Regions from separate parts of the Homo sapiens genome. Here regions 2 and 3 are each linked to region 1. The links are contacts of gene promoters, found by promoter capture Hi-C in human tissues and cell types (Jung and others, 2019). All regions are on one chromosome and are shown on one strand. Each heading gives the region's core, a stretch centred on a gene start or on the middle of the fragment in contact. The rest is flanking DNA. Distances are from core to core; before and after follow the strand shown. Region 1 holds the start of SLC28A1 (solute carrier family 28 member 1). Region 2 overlaps PDE8A (phosphodiesterase 8A). Region 3 holds the start of ZNF592 (zinc finger protein 592).

Evidence for each region. The method cuts DNA at HindIII sites, captures the fragments that hold promoters and counts their contacts. A contact is called where the count stands out against the background at its distance.
Region 2: a contact is called between a fragment that was not itself captured here and the fragment with the promoter of SLC28A1 in region 1, in 5 of the 25 tissues and cell types used here (aorta, dorsolateral prefrontal cortex, liver and 2 more).
Region 3: a contact is called between the fragment with the promoter of ZNF592 here and the fragment with the promoter of SLC28A1 in region 1, in 1 of the 25 tissues and cell types used here (mesenchymal stem cells).

Annotation. Positions count from the first base shown.
Region 1 is chr15:84,882,832-84,886,352 of GRCh38, forward strand. It overlaps SLC28A1 (solute carrier family 28 member 1), which reads left to right and starts at 1,831. Exons shown (of 19, transcript NM_004213.5): 1 at 1,831-1,920. RefSeq lists enhancers at 910-1,410, 1,411-1,911. The HindIII fragment of the contact is 24,351 bases long and covers 1-3,521 here.
Region 2 is chr15:85,045,469-85,048,989 of GRCh38, forward strand. The region is part of intron 1 of PDE8A (phosphodiesterase 8A); the gene reads left to right. Among named protein-coding and RNA genes, the nearest start is that of PDE8A, 65 kb to the left of the region's middle. RefSeq lists an enhancer at 1,717-1,886. The HindIII fragment of the contact is 7,626 bases long and covers 1-3,521 here.
Region 3 is chr15:84,746,788-84,750,308 of GRCh38, forward strand. ZNF592 (zinc finger protein 592) reads left to right here and starts at 1,805. Exons shown (of 11, transcript NM_014630.3): 1 at 1,805-1,877. RefSeq lists enhancers at 957-1,256, 1,329-2,168, 2,697-2,776 and silencers at 1,327-1,746, 1,807-2,296. The HindIII fragment of the contact is 21,328 bases long and covers 1-3,521 here.

The DNA of each region.
Region 1 (3,521 bases), core at 581-3,080:
TTAAGCACTCCTGCAGGTGGGACCCGGCATCCTAATTCTACCAGGCCTCTTGTTGCTGCCGTAGATGAGCCCCAGACTCGGCCTTCCATTTTGTATTGGATGATGACCACATGTGCCCAGATGTTCTCAGTGAGTAGAGTGGGTCAAGGAGTAAACTATATCGGAAACCGTTGGATAATCATGCCAAGCAGGCTGGGGGCTTCCAGCCTTTGGGGTACTGGAATGCTTTCTTCCCCTGGGACCAGCTGAACTAGCTCTGTAGTTGCCGGGAGAGCAGTGTGCTCTAACACTTGGGCTAGTCCGTTCCCACAGGAAAACTAGAAGAGTCACAAGCAAAGAGTATAAAAGCCCAAGATATTTCTTTAGTCTTTGTATTTAGCTCTATGTCATCAATTTTTTTTTTTACAGGGTCTCACTCCTGTCGCCCAGGCTGGAGTGCAGTGGTGTGATTATGGTTCACTGCAGCCTTGACTTCCCAGGCTTAAATGATCCTCCCACCTCAGCCTCCTGAGTAGCTGGGATTACAGGTGCACGCCACCACACCTGTCTAATTTTTTCTATTTTTTGTAGAGACAGGGTCTCCCTGTGTTGCCCAGGCTGGTCTTGAAGTCCTGGGCTCAAGCGATCTACCTGCCTTGGCCTCCCAAAGTGCTAGGATTATTGCTACTTTCCAATATTTCTACTACAGACTACGGGAAGTCCATTTTTCAATGCCAAATGCAGAAGAAAAAGTTGTATGGATGCCCTTTCTGCCAATCATCCCAGGTTTAGGAGAGAAGAATGATGAGGTCATGTTCATGGAACTTGACGAGTGATAAGCCTCTTTATTTGTCCAGTGCTTGGATACACGAATCGATGCAATGAAAGAGACCTCGCCTGTGAAGAGCTAAGAAATGAGTGTGGGCAGAATCATGAGAAGAAAATAAAGAGATTGCTGAGCAACTCTTCTGACAGTTCTTGTGCTTTTTGAATGTTTCACTCACTACTTATAAAATAACCTATTATGTCAGAGCCTGGCGAGAAGGGATCCTCTCCAACTCTTTGACTAATAATTCCCTAAAACAGGAGGTGGCCTGCAGAAGAACTAAAACCAGAAAAGTTAGGTGGTTGCCTCTGAGGAATGGGATAGAGTTGGAGGGGTGGAGCAGCCCCTTTACTGTCAACCCTTCTGAGCTCTGCTGGATGGTGAGGGAAATTATCTATGTATATTTATGTGGTCCTCTCCCCACTCTGCCCTGGCCTGGCTCAGCTCTAGGTCTCACTCAGCGGGCGTCTGCGGGTGTGCCGGGCCTCAGAGGCTGTCTCCTTAGGAAACAGGCCACCAAGAAGCCCAAGGACATGCTGAGGTCCCACAGCTGGAGGGGCACAGCCGGGACACCTGAGGTCCTCCAGCTGTTGGTCTTTCCCTGGGGTCTCCACCCCAATCTATCCAGCCTCCCAACTCCCCAGCCTGTGGCTTTTTGCCACATTCCACCTGAAAAGACCGCTTGGCTTCTGGGGTCTGGGATCCCTGCTGGCCATGCCTCCTTGAGAGGAGGAGCAGGGGAGAAGCCCGGAGTCTCCTGGCCTGGAGGAGGGGAGCAGTGTGTCAGGACACCCCGGATGGGACCTGTGACAGCAATGACACCTGCCAGCCTGATGCCGCTTGACTCCCTGCCAGGTACTTCCTAAGCAGGAGCACGCTGACTCCTCATGTGCTCTATTACCCACCACCAGATGAGGCAGCAAGTTAACTTTGGCAGTCAGGAGTGGAGACCTTTGGGCTCCAAGCTCAAGGTCCACCCCAAGACACACAGCCCATTAAATCCTTGTTGTAGAGATTAGGGCCCACAACGATGTGAAGGTTATAAGCTGCACTGCATGGTTGCTGCTGGATGTGTTGTGTTCCTGGCTTCCCTCTGGATGCTGACAGAAACAAGGGTGAGAGAAAAGGACAGTAGGAGAGGAGGGAAGGCGGGACTGAAGAAAGGAGGGGAAGGGGGTAGCACAGGGCAAAGTGGAAAAGCAGGTAGCGTCCTTTTTTTCTTCACTAGGGCTTGGCGAAGACCCCTTCGAGGACAGCTCCAGGCCCATCCCTGTGGTGGCCACCCATGGAGACAGTAGTGCTGCTCAGAGGCATTTAGTTTTTGTTTCTTTTCTGTTTTTGAGGTAGAGTCTCGCTCTGTTGCCGAGGCTGGAGTGCAGTGGTGTGATCTCTGCTCACTGCAGCCTCCACCTCTCGGGTTCAAGCAATTCTCCTGCCTCAGCCTCCCGAGTAGCTGGGACTACAGGCACCTGCCACCATGCCTGGCTAATTTTTGTATTTTTAGTAGAGACGGGGTTTCACCATGTTGGCCAGGCTGGTCTCGAACTCCTGGCTTCAAGTGATCTGCCCACCTTGGCCTCCCAAAGTGCTGGGAGTGCAGGCATGAGCCACCGTGCCCCCCCTCTTTTTTTTTTTTAAAGGTAGAGTCTTGCTCTGTGGCTAGTTTTCAATCAAGGTAACACATGGGCTCTCAACAGTGTGCGGAACTCTGCTAGAAAAATCAAATTATGAGAACACTGTTACTGTGTGATCCCCTATTGGAAAATGAATAACATAAAATAACATACATTTAGGAAAAAAAAAGTGGAGAAAAGGCCAGGCGCGGTGGCTCATGCCTGTAATCCCAGCACTTTGGGAGGCCAAGGTGGGTGGACCACCTGAGGTTGGAAGTTCGAGACCAGCCTGACCAACATGGAGAAACCCCATCTCTACTAAAAATACAAAATTAGCCAGGTGTGGTGGCGCATGCCTGTAATCACAGCTACTTGGGAGGCTGAGGCAGGAGAATCGCTTGAACTTGGGAGGCGGAGGTTGCAGTGAACCGAGCTCGCACCACTGTACTCCAGCCTGGGCAACAAGAGTGAAACTCCGTCTCAAAAAAAAAAAAAAAAAGGAGGAAAATGCCACACAAACTCAATAGTGGTCATCCCTGAGGGCTCAGATTCCGGGGACTTTAACTTCCCTCATTCTGTATATTTCTCTAATGTTTAAATGTTTAATGATACACTTGTAATGCTTTGGTAATTCAAATGACAGATGAAGAAAAAATGTTTTCAAAAAGAGGGGGTGTCCATCCACCATCCTCTCCAAACTTCCAAAACAACCAGGAGGTGCCGGTACTAGCAAGTATTTATGCATCATAGAGGATTTTGTCCTGAGCGCGTACCATTAATTATTAAAGAGATGTTGTGAATCCCGTCAGATGAGTTTAATGTTTAGTGTGAGGACTGGAAAACTAAAGCATTCAGCCCTTCGCTTTGCACACCGTTGGCTTAGGTATTCATTTAACAAAGATGAAATGAAGGGGAAATGGTGTGATTTGGTTTTGTTTTCTTGACAGACCTGAAACACTTTTACTATTTCTCACAGCTACACTGCTTTCCTCATTTTCCAGCACAGGAAAATTGGTTGCTGTTATAATAAATCCCCATCTAGTGAGAAAGGGAGATAGAGAAAGATGCAAAATGAAAGATAAAATGCAAAAAGCTAACAGCCT
Region 2 (3,521 bases), core at 557-3,056, 160 kb after region 1:
ACCATACTTCTCTGAGTGTCAGCTTCTTCATCAATAAAATGGAGTTAATGAGCTTACCTTGCTCATAAGGTAAGAACTAAATTGGACTTAAATATGATTGGATCCAAAGTATTTACGTGTTAGATACTTTTTTCTATTAAAACTGACTGGACCATGTTGTTATTTGCATTTTCCTCTCCTGCTACCCAAGGGACAGGATTAGGTTCTTTGTACTCCTAGTATCTAGCACTGCACTTGTCTTACAGTAATAGGTGGTCCACAAGTGTCTGGATTTAGACTCTTCCACACCTAAGAACTGGTATCTCCTGACTCTTTCCAGGCTGTGTCCCTTTGATCACATTATTTCTCTTTGTCCAGAGAGAGAAACAGATGGTCACTGGTTGTACATGGAAAGCCTGAAGGGATAGTATGGTTCAGACCAAAATTGGATTTATGTCTTTACTGCAGTTCCTGGGTTTTGTATACAATTAATGTAAATTGACCCCAGGATAACTTTCTGTTTCTAATAAAAGGATGAAGGAAAAAAAGAGATCGATCATATGATTGTTTTGTAGTTCCTAGGACTTAGGCTCTTCGTAAGATTCTTCTTTCTGTTTCTTTTTTTTTTTTTTTTTTTTAAGACAGAGTCTCGCCCTGTCACCCAGGCTGGAGTACAGTGGCTCTGTCTCAGCTCAGTGCAATCTCTGCCTCCCAGGTTCAATCCCTCCTGAGTAGCTGGGATTACAGGCACCCACCACACCTGGCTAATTTTTGTATTTTTAGTAGAGACAGGGTTTTACTATGTTGGCTAGGCTGGTCTTGAGCTCCTGACCTCAGGTGATCTGCCCGCCTCGGCCTCCCAAAGTGCTGGGATTACAGGCGTGAGGCACCACGCCCAGCCATTCTTTCTGTTTCTTAATGGAATAAAGTACCTATGAAATTACTCTGAAAACTACAAGTCCTGTATTACATACATATATTTATGTAATAAGCTGGTATGAGTATAATTTCTAGATAAATGATTGGTTTAAAAAGATTAGCTGTTGACTGCACATTAATTCCAAAATATTTTTTGAATACCATGTACTAGACACTGTTTTGGGTGTTGGGAATATAGTAATGAATAAAGCAGGTAAATCCCTGTTGTTATAGAACTCTGTATTCCAGTGGGAGAAACAGACAAAAAAGAAGATAGATAATAAAATATGTAGTATACCAAATGGTGATTGGGAGCTAAGAAATAAAAACAAAGCAGGCAAGGGATAGGGAGGGTAGAGGGGAGTAGAAATTTTACAGAGGTTGGAATTATATATCTATTTTCTTTCTCACCCACCCCTAATCAAGATTTGTAACATAATAACTTTGCCTTCTAATACCACATCTAAATGATGTTAGATCAGTTAGGCAAACGAAATCAAAACTTCTAATAATTTGTTTCATATATCTGTAAACCATATTTACAAAAAGTTTTACTTTTCAATATTAAAATGCAAATCAACACCATCATATTGTCTGATATCCTAATATTATAACCTTTTTAAATAATCTTAATACATTCACAAATATTTAAAAGTATAAAAGATTAAGAACGTGTATAATTACTGATATCAGCTATTGAACATACTTTTGTTTCTATATTGCTTAAAAATGTCAGTTGCTTTTAAAGCTGAAAGATAAAATCAAAGCTATGCTATTTAAATTTATTTGAAATGATTATTCCCTTGTAAATATTAATGTGAAAAATAAATTATTATTAAGAGGGCTGTGACCTGAAACCTTAGGTCAGTTTGATTATGATTTCCATACATAAAGAAAGGATGGATACAAGAATTCCAGAAGTTCCAGTCCTCTTTTCTAGAGCAGTCAGGAAGTTGTTTACTCTTTGAGGGCCCACTGCTGACGTCTGCTCACTGAGTAATGTCATCAGATTTCCTGGTGGTGGTTATTTTGGGGGGAGCAGTGGCAAGTAGTTGTCCGGCTGTTAGGAGACTCTGCTCCATAGAGGTCCTGAGAGCCGGATATACCCCGTAGACAGGATGTAAGGTTAAATGCAATCTAGTTAAGTAAATAAAGTAAGCGTTCAGTGGTAAAAAGGAATTGCTGAAACATGAATGTTTTAAAATGATATTGCTAAAATTTTTACGTGGCAAAATTCATAGTCTTAAATCTTTTAAAAGTGAACCCATAGCTGCCTTTATTTCTTAAAATAAATCCAAAGGTGAGTTACTTTTATAAGTTCACATCATAAATTTATGCTGTCCTTTGTCTGTACAAATCAAGTTATTTCACCAGCTTTTGGTGTAGACCACATATTCAGGATTGTTTACCTAGGAGGGATGAGCCTTTTGCCCTGAGCTATCCAGACTTTTATCTTTTCCCTCAGCTTGTGACCAACACTATGTAAATATGTATATACATACTTTTTACTCATGCTGGTCATTAATATTTAAACAATTCATTATTGTCTTTATATTTATTTTCCTTACCGGTTTCCTTAAGTTTGTACTGTTGATTTTCTCAAACTTAATGATTTGAAAGCTTAGTGTACTTATTTTGTGACAAAAAGGTTTTAGACTATAGATTTTGCCTCTCATTATAATTTAGCAGTAGTATCCTGTAAGTCTTACTACATAATATTCACTTTTATTTTCCAAGTTAACTGTAGGCATAGTTTGCATATCTCTCTTTGATTCATTACTTTTGTGAGTTAATATTTTTAAGTTTTCTAAGGAGGCAGGATTTTTTGTTGTCGCTTAAACTTAAGTTTTTAATTCCTAGTTTGCTTCGTTGAAGGATAAAAACTGTACAGTTTTTACTTTAGGAATATATTTTAAGGGTTTTTTTCTGGTAACCTAGTATATCATGTTTTTCTAATATTTATAAATATTTTCTTTCTTTCCATTCAGACTTTATTTTTTATCTATTTGATCCTTCTTAGTAAATTTCATGAGTATTCTGTCAGAGACTGAGACACCAATTCATATAAAGGACCCAGGTGGCTCTCTGACCCTGCTTTATTGTGGCAGTAGCAGCATCCCTCCAGTTTATGCTTTTTCTGCTTTCTCTTACGAAACTGTGCCCCATACTGTAGGACATAAGCAAAATGATTTTCTTTCTCTTCTTCCTGTCATTTTCTTCCTTTCTTCTTCCTGAGCAGTTCCACTGCATTCTCCAAGCAATAGGTCAGTCTCATTCATTTGCTCATTGCTTTAAACTTGTTCATTAAGTGCTGGTGCCACAAACAAAAAACTCATCGTTCAAACTGGTCTCTCAGAGCCTCTTGCTTTCCTTCTTCCTGTACCGTGAGAGTATGATGATTATACAGACCATTTCAAGCACTTGAAAGTTGATTTTAAAAAATAACAAAACAAAGCCGGGCGCGGTGGCTCACGCCTATAATTCCAGTACTTTGGGAGGCCAAGGCAGACAGATCACTTGAGGTCAGGAGTTCGAGACCACCCTGGCCAATATGGCAAAACCCCGTCTCTACTAAAAATAACAAAAATTAGCCAGGCGTGGTGGCTCATGCCTGTAGTCCTGGC
Region 3 (3,521 bases), core at 555-3,054, 140 kb before region 1:
CGGAGGCCGAGGCGGGTGGATGACCTGAGTTCAGGAGTTTGAGACCAGCCTGACCAACATGTTGAAACCCCATTTCCACTAAAAATACAAAATTAGTCAGGCATGGTGGCGCATGCCTGTAATCCCAGCTACTCGGGAGGCTGAGGCAGGAGAATCGGTTGAACCCAGGAGGCAGAGGTTGCAGTGAGCCGAGATTGTGCCATTGCACTGCAGCCTGGGCAACAAGAGCGAAACTCTCTCTCAAAAAAAAAAAAAAAAAAAAAAAAAAAAAAAGCCAGGCATGGTGGCGTGCGCCTGTAATTCCAGCTACTTTGAAGGCTGAGGCTGGATTATCACTGGAACTCTGGAGGTAGAGGTTGCAGTGAGCCGAGACCACGCAATTGCACTACAGCCTGGGCTGCGAGACCGAAACTCCGTCTCCAAAGACAAAAAAAAAAAACAAAAAACAATCAACTTTTCCCTTTACTCTTTTGCAGAGAGGGAGGGTCTCGCTATGTTGCCCAGGCTGAACTCAAACTTCTCGGCTTAAGGGATGCTTTTGCCTCAGCTTCCACAGTAGGACCCAACTTTCTCCTTTACTCTTGGTACTTCTTGAGCTCCAGGCCTACTTTTCTCTCTCTCACTGCCAAACATTTGAAATCATCACCCTTTATTAACTCCATTGCTTCATTGGCTAACATACTCTTTAGACAAGCTCTTCAACTCAGTTCTGTGCCTGGTGCACAGCAGGCTCCGGCTGCATGTTAGTTCCAGCCATCTTGCACATTTGCATCTCCTTCCTGGAGAAGGAATTTCTCCATGGTTAGCAGTGTGTGCTCACTCCTAGTCACCAGGGCCTCATCTCCGTGTTCCCACACCCTGACCTTGCTGCCGCCCTAATGCTGCGGACCCAGTTTCCAGGTACGCCGGGTTCTTGGAAGGTCCTGCCGGTCACCCTCCCAGCCTTCTGCCAGACTCACTGAGTTCTCACCCTGCACAGTCATCGTTTCCCCAGTAACCCTGAGAGATCTCCCAGTCTACCTCTTCGAGGCACCCGTTGCCAGTCCTCCATCTCTGTTTGCCGCGCGTCCCTCGGTTACCCCAGAGGCAACACGTCAGGCTGCCCCGCACCTCCAAGCCTGCGCGAATGTCCTTGTAGCCAGCTATGACCAAACATTTAGGGCGCACCTGAGCGCCAGGCCCACGCCACCCCTGCTTGCTTTCACTTAACAGCCTCGACTAGGCCCCCTATGCGCCAGGTCTCAGTGAAGAGGACGCAGTCCCGGGTCCTGGGCGCTCTTTGCCGGGCGAGACAGCTGCGTAGGCAGATCCTGTTCCTCTAGTGGGCGGCCTCGGCCCCTGCCCCTGCCCCGAGGCGCGTCAGAGGACAAGAGGCCCAGGTCGCTGGCAGCGGCTGCCTGCCCGACCGCACAGGGTGCCTAGCACGGGTGGCGGGGACTGGAGCCGGGCGGGGGCCGGCCGGGGTCGGGGGTCCAGCCCTGAGCGGCGCCGTCCCCGCCCCGCCCCGTCCCGTCGCGTCCCGCCCCGCCCTACCCGCCGCCGCCGTCGTCGCCGTCGCCGGGCCTGCGCCGCGCAGCCCGCCTCGGGCGGGAGGCGGGAGGCGGGAGGCCGGGCCCAGGCCGGGGCAGCCCCTCCACCGCACCGTCCTGGGCCGGTGCCCAGGTCCGAGTCGCCTTCCGCCTGCCCCCCCCCCCCCCCAATCCCCCGCCGCGGCAGCCCCAGCCAGGTCCCGCCGCCAGGCCGGCTCCCGCCCCCGCTCCGCCCCCGGAGCCGCAGCCCCGCCCGCCATCGCCGTCGCCATGTTGTGGCTCCCGCAGCCGGCGCTGGGGACGCGCGCGGCCGAGACTCTGGCCTGCAGTCGCCGCCGCCGCCGCCAGGTAAGCGCCCCCCGCGGGCCGGGCCGAGCGGGGCCTGCGGGCCGGGGCAGCCCCAGCCTGGGCCCGGGAGGATCGCAGCCGGGACCGAGTCCGAGCCCGAGCCGGGGCCCGGCCCTGCAGCCTGGCGGACCCTGGCCGCCGCCAGAGGCGGCAGCCACTTCCCCCGACCGCCGCCTGGCGGGCCCGGGCCGCCACCCCACCCCGCCCCCGGCCGTCGGGCGCCGGCCCCTTCCGCCGCTGCGACCGCCGCTGCGACCGCCGCTCCTTGGCAGGCCGGGCACGCTGCTGTCCTCCGCGCTGGGCGGGACGTGCGGCCGCCCTCGGCGATAGCCGGCGGCCCCCAGCCCGGGCACGGATAACGGTGCCACTTTCTCCCTCTGGGACGGCCTGTCAGCCCGACCGTCCCCGCCGCCCGAAGAGCTGTCGCCGTCACAGGGCAGACACTTCGGGGAACGACCCTCTTTGGCGCTCCTCAGTACTCCCCTCCCCTGAGCCCAAGTTCTGACCCTGAGGAAGGTTTCTCCCGGAGCAGACAGGTATTCCTAGAGCTCCAGAGTTGGGGTCCTCAGGGGTGACCAGGCCTGTTGATCAGGGTGAAAATTGTCTCTCTGCAAGGGCTCTTCCTGCCAACGAGGGGGTTGGCGGGAGGCTCAGTGTGACCTGAGGGAGGACAGGAGAGCGTCTGCTGGACAGATGGCCTCCTGGCCTTGGATCAGCGTTTGTGAGGGGGAGGGGTCCGTATGACCTTAGGTATGCCTGCTCCTGAGTACTGCAGGATTATTGAAGCTGTTTAGGGATTTTAAACCATTTTTTGAGTAGGCCAAAGGTGGCATTAAAGGTCCTGGATTGGAATAAGTCCACAGGCCCACCCAGGGAAGCATGTTTGGCATCCAGGACTAGTCTAGAATAGGACTGGCAGTAGAAGAATGGGACTTGGGGAGTAAGACGGTATTTGGCTTATGGTTTGCCCACTTGAGTTCAGGCCTGTGCTCATGGAGGGCCTGTAGGGTGCTTCTGTCGCGGGTGCAGTGTGGTGCACAGTGTGGCAGAGTGCGGAGGATGTGGACAGACAGATTCCTGGCCTGGTGGATGCTTGGTGGTATTTTAGTAGTCTGTTTCCTCAACCTCACTGTTACGTTACACAGTGAAAGGGGCAGAAGTGTGGTGCTAGTGCGTCCATTTTGATCATTTTCCAATTTTTCAACTAGTTGTGGCTTTGATTCATTAAATAAATTTTTACTGAGCACTTACTCTGTGCCAGGCACTGAGCTAGGTGTTGGGAGTACATTGGTAAGCCAGAAAGATACCATGTTTTAGTTCTTAGCCATTGGGAAAGTCTAATAATTAATAGTCGTGGCCGGGCGCGGTGGCTCGCGCCTGTAATCCCAGCACTTTGGGAGGCCGAGGCGGGTGGATCGCCTGAGATCAGGAGTTCGAGACCAGCCTGACCAACATGGTGAAACCCCGTCTCCACTAAAAAAATACAAAATTAGCCGGGTGTGGTGGTGCATGCCTGTAATCCCAGCTACTTGGGAGGCTGAGGCACGATAATTGCTTGAACCCGGGAGGCGGAGGTTGCAGTGACCTGAGATCGTGCCGTTGCACTCTAGCTTGGGCTACAGAGTGAGACTCCATCTCAAAATA